2 separate regions of the Homo sapiens genome follow, and region 1 is linked to region 2. The links are contacts of gene promoters, found by promoter capture Hi-C in blood cells and fetal thymus (Javierre and others, 2016). All regions are on one chromosome and are shown on one strand. Each heading gives the region's core, a stretch centred on a gene start or on the middle of the fragment in contact. The rest is flanking DNA. Distances are from core to core; before and after follow the strand shown. Region 1 has its middle 86 kb from the start of ESM1. Region 2 holds the start of GZMA (granzyme A).

Evidence for each region. Contacts are between HindIII fragments. The CHiCAGO score rates a contact against its expected background, and 5 or more counts as called.
Region 1: a fragment that was not itself captured here is called in contact with the fragment with the promoter of GZMA in region 2 in 3 of 17 cell types (activated CD4 T cells, total CD8 T cells and fetal thymus); the score reaches 5.9 in activated CD4 T cells.

What each region holds. Positions count from the first base shown.
Region 1 is chr5:54,898,263-54,900,962 of GRCh38, reverse strand. No RefSeq gene overlaps it. Among named protein-coding and RNA genes, the nearest start is that of ESM1, 86 kb to the left of the region's middle. RefSeq lists a silencer at 1,134-1,291. The HindIII fragment of the contact is 5,239 bases long and covers 1-2,700 here.
Region 2 is chr5:55,101,367-55,104,066 of GRCh38, reverse strand. It overlaps GZMA (granzyme A), which reads right to left and starts at 1,421. Exons shown (of 5, transcript NM_006144.4): 1 at 1,315-1,421. The coding sequence starts at 1,384. The HindIII fragment of the contact is 5,521 bases long and covers 1-2,700 here.

The DNA.
Region 1 (2,700 bases), core at 163-2,662, 200 kb after region 2:
CTGTCAGAAGAAACAGAAGAAATCCCCACTGGCTGCTGTCAATCCACTGACTTGCTTTAACTTTCTTCCTTCATTGTAAAGTCTTGCTCCCAAATGCTCTGTGAGGACACTCGTTGAAGTGGCTATCATTGATTTATATTTCTGTGTGAGGAATTCCAGCCCCTTTCTTCAGGGTAGGTTTTTACTCTGAGAAATTATGAAGATGGCAGAGGAATAGAAGGGTCCCCATGGGAACAAAAGCAGGACTGGCATTTGGGGGTATTAAGATACACACTTTACTGACTTCTAAATTTTCCTTGAGGTCTCTGAGTTCTGCTGTAAAATAGTTTGGCTGGCTTTCCATTACTCTCCTATGAAAATGGTAAACTGACAACTTCAAATAGAAAAAAATTTCATATTAATTTCTTCATTTCTTCATCAACTACTTATTGAGTACATGCTGTGTCAGCTGCTGGTCCAGACCCTGGGGAGATAACACAGCATCGATGGTCACTTGGATTAGAGCAGCAACAGAGATGGAGAGAAGCAGATTGATTTGAGTCATGTTTAGATGTAGGGCTAACAGGACTTTGGGTATAAGGAAAAGAGATGAATGAGTGTTGATTCGTAAGGTTTGGACTTGAACCATGAGATAGATGGTGGTGCTATTACAGAGATGAAGGGGATGAGAGGAGGACCAGGCTTGCAGAGCAGAAGTCAAGGCTTCCATTTTTGTCACATTAATTTTGAGATGACTATTTGACAACTGGGGGAAAATGGCAAGCAGGCCTATCTTATTCAGTTCAGGCTGTCATAACATAAGGCCCCATGGACTGGGTGGCTTAAATAACAAACATTTTATTTCTCATAGTTCTAGAAGCTGGGAAGTCCAAGATCAAGGTGCCTGCACATCCAGTGTCTGGTGAGGGCATTCTCCTTGGTTTGTAGACAGCTGTCTTCTCATCGTATCCTCACATGGTAGAGAACAGAGAGAGGAAGCTAGCTCTCTGGTCTCTCCCAATAAGGAAACTAATCCCATTAATGTGGGCTCCATTTTCAAGATCGAATTACCTCTCAAGGCCCCCACTCCTAATACCATCACATTGAGGGTTAGGATTTCAGCATTTGAATTTGGGCAGGGAGGTGGGGGAGAAGGCCAGACATTTGGTCCATAACAAGGGCTTTGGATACACAAGTAAGGCTGAAACCCAGGGGGCCCCTCAGAACCAGAAGTATGAATTTGGGAGTCCTTTCCATGTAGTACTTCAAACCATGGGGCGGGAAAAAATTTGTAGATGGAGAAGAAGAGAGCAGGTAGGGCTGAGCTCTGAGTGCAGAGATGGCTTAGAGGACATGGAGCTAGCAGAGGAGACTAAGCAGGTGCAGTCACTGAAGTGGGAGGTTAACACAGAGCCTGTTGCTTTATGGAAGCCAAGAAAGGAAAGGATTTCAAGGAAAGAGCAGTCAGTTTGAATGCTACTGAATGTAGGGCGAGATGAGAACAGAGAGTACCATCAGGTGTGGTGATTGGCGCTTTCTGCTCTCATCTCATCCTACCTTCAGTAGCTCAGCAGGAAACAGAAATTATACTGCCCTGATTGAATGGGTGCAAAGAGAAGGGGACATCATGTGCTTCAAAGAGTTGGATCAGAAGAGTTGGGGGGAAGTTAGGTATGGTGAAGGGACTATAATATCAGGAAAGGGATTTTTAGGATTAGAATATCCTTTTTAGCTGGAAAAATAGAGAGGGGGATATTGAAGATTGCAGGAGAGAAAGAAAAAGAGAGAGAGAGACGCCTTGAAGAAGCAGAAGGGAATGGGATCTAGAGGCAAGTGGAGGTTTGCCCTGAATAAGTAACTCTAGTGCCTGTAACAAGATGCCGGGTGCAGGGATGACGAGGCTGGGTTGAGGTTGGTCAAAAAGAGACTAAACTCCAAAAGAGGTGAGAAAGCGGAGACAGTGAAAGGAAATGACGCTTTCCAAAAGAAGACTTCTTTCTCTGTGCTAAAGGAAAGGATACATGTTGGGCTACGGAAATGGGATGGAATTTGGAGTTAAAACACTTGAGTCCCAGGATTGAGACTCATCTTAAGCTACTGAGTGTAGCTTACCTGCCCAACAGATTTTTCTGAGGGGAAAAAAGGGGCAATTCACCTACTCAAAAGAATCAAGATGTAATTATTTTCTTAGAATATCTCCACAATTTGATCATGAGGGCTTATCAAAATTTCATGAAAACAGACATTGCATGAATACTCTTAGTATCCACTTATTCATTCATTCATTCATTCCACAGATAGTCATTGAAAACCCATTATGGCCCAAGCACTGCTGCAGGCATTGGGGTTGCTCAGTGACCATACCAAGTCTCTGCCACATAGAGTTTACATTAGAGTGGGAAGGAAAACTATAAATAAGGATCTATGTATACCAGATGGTTATCAATGTTGTGGAGAAAAAGCAGCTTATGCAGAATGGAGGAGCTGTTATCTATGGTGACTATGGGAGTCCTCACCAGTTAGAGTACATTTAAGCAGAGACAGCAGCATGGGACAAGCCATGAGGACGCAGATGCTCCTCATTTTACAATGGGGTTATGTCCCTAGAAGCCCATCAGGAACCTCATAAGCCTATCATAAGTTGAAAATATTGTTAGTCAACAGTGTGTTTTCAACTTACGGTATTTTCAATTTACAATGGGTTTATCCAGATGCAACCCC
Region 2 (2,700 bases), core at 172-2,671:
TGTCCTGCAGCCTTGTTATTTTTATATTTCTTCTCTCTCTCTCTCTTTTTTGTTTTTTTTTTGAGACAGAGTCTCGCTCTGTCACCAGGCTGGAGTGCAGTGGCACGATCTTAGCTCACTGCAGCCTCCAACTCTCTGGTTCAAGCGATTCTCCTGCCTCAGCCTCCTGCGTAGCTGGGATTACAGGCACGTGCCACCATACCCAGCTAATTTTTGTTTTTTTAGTGGAGACAAGGTTTCACCATGTTGGCCAAGATGGTCTCCATCTCTTGACCTTGTGAAACACCCACCTCAGCCTCCCAAAGTCTTCTCATATTTAGGTGCATAAACCAGATATGCACCTAAATATGATAAACCAGAGTTCTTTGGGAATTCCTGGCAAGGCAGGTTATTACATAAGTCCCTGCCTCCAAAAGCTGATGAATCCTGGGAAAAACCGTGGCTGGCTCCATATTGCCACAGCTTGAGAGTAGTCCTCACTTCCTAGCAGGTTCTTCAAGGGAAATCTAGAGCTCCCCAAGAGCTGTCACCCTTTCAGTGGTAATACCATGAATTATACAGCATTTTAACCCATGCATGCTCAACTCACACAAAAGCAGAAATATTGGTTACCATTTGGTAGACAAAAAATTAGCTTAATAAAAAATACTATAGCACACCCAAAGGGTTAATGAGGGAACTGGCCTCACGCCTTAATTTATTGCCAAAGAGTCTCTAGACCAGAGAAATAAGTATAAAAATTCTAATAATTCCTGATTCACTTTTGGTGTCTAGGTCAGATTTGTCTTAATTGTCTTTATCTATGCATTTTCTGCAGCAGGAAAGGCTGAGCTGACTAAGTTGCCACTATTCCTTTCCTGGAAGGTACTATTTGTTTTACGAACAAGAGAGTTTTGTTAACTCATTTTTACATTGTCCTTTTTGGCAATTTTCAAGTTACAAATTGGCAGCAATAAGCATTGGTGGTTCTGCTATCTTTTGCAAAATAATTATGAGAAGAAAAGATTTTTTTTTCTAAAATACAGACATATTTAAAATCCAAGAAAGAATGCTATTTAAAAAAAAAAAATAGAGACAGGGTCTCACTATGTCGCCCAGCCTGGACTCAAACTCCTGCGCTCAAGTGATCCTTCCACCTCAGCGTTCCTAGTAGCTGGGACTACAGGCATGTGCCATTGTGCCTGGCTAAACATTATAAGGCTTGGGGGAAAACATCTTCTTTCAGTATAGGAAGGTAATATTGCCAAAAGTTCATTGAAAGTCTGCTCCATTTTGCTTCATGGTCATAATGGAAATGAGAAGAATCAGTCTTACCTTCAGGAATTAGCAGGAGAGAAACGACAACTGAGAGAGAGGATGCCAGAAATCTATAGGAGTTCCTCATTGTGGCTGCTGTCCCACATCAATCAACCTGAAAATCTGTTTTCAGTTCTTAACTGCCTCTATCTATATACTGAGAGTAAAAAGGATGTGGTTTCCTTTCATTTTTTTTTTCAAGTTTCAAAGTTTAGCATTAGGAAACCAAATCCAAATAAGTGAGAATGGTGGATGATGGCTCACTGCCAGCAGGCAGGCTTTCCTTTGCTAGGACTGCTGAGGGGGGCGCTGGAATTCTACAGGGTAGGAGAGGGGCAAGGGACCTTGTTGCCATCAGAGTACACCAGGGAAGACTGTAAAGTGTCTCAGCTATGATTTTGAAGACGCTTTCATCATCTGCAATATTATCTGTAGTATCCATGACTGGAAACTCTCGAAGACTTAAATTAGAATTTTAATAAAAGTCCTCAAAATTGGTCACCAATCAAAATTCTTTCTAGCTGTCTCCTTGGGTTATATAAGAATTAGCAGGCCAAGTGCAAGCTGAGGACAGGAGGGAGATTTATTTACATAGAGGCTCCTGCCTGGATTTTCCTTCCCCACTTTGTGGTGAGTGTTTATTGTGCTCCTGCCTGGTCTGTGGCAGGTGTGGGAACATGGGCTGGAGGAGGGTAGGGGCTCTTGGCCCTTTTCAGCCCTCTGATTGTGCGTTCCTGATTGTCTAGTTTCACAACTTTAGATACTGAAAGTATCTCCGAGTTTCCCTCCCTCCCCGCCCCCCCCCGACCCCTGCTTCCTGCCTTTCTTCCTTACTTTCTTCTGAACAGGTTTAGGTGAGAAAAGAAGTGGGAGTCATTTTTGTTCCAATGTTGGGGAATGTCTCACTCTAAGAAGAGTCAACCTCAGTCCCTGGAGGAACAGTATGCAGTGTGCTTTCTATTTGAAATGAGTTCAGCTCTTTTTCTGAGCTGAGGATGTGGTCTCCGATACAATATACATGGTCAGATGTGCTGTCAGGATGTTGGGTACTGAACCAACCATCCCCATAGTTAACATCCTGATGACTTCAAACCTAGTGGTTACTTCTTTAGAAATCAAGTGACCTTAGAAGGGAGCCCTGCTGAGACCCCTGCATTTCTTTTTCTCAGATATTACAAGTGTATCAAAGGTTAATCATTTTCAGTAACAGCAGTGAGGACCCTGCTATTGGTTTTGGTGAGTAATTTTAGTGCAGACTTAAAAAAGTCAAATTGTAATTAACTACACCTACTGAAAAATTCTTAAAACATTGACAATTTTGTTTATTTTTATGTGAATGGTTGCTCTTCCATTTATGTTGACTTCTAACAACTTTATGAGACATAATTCACACACCATAAAGGT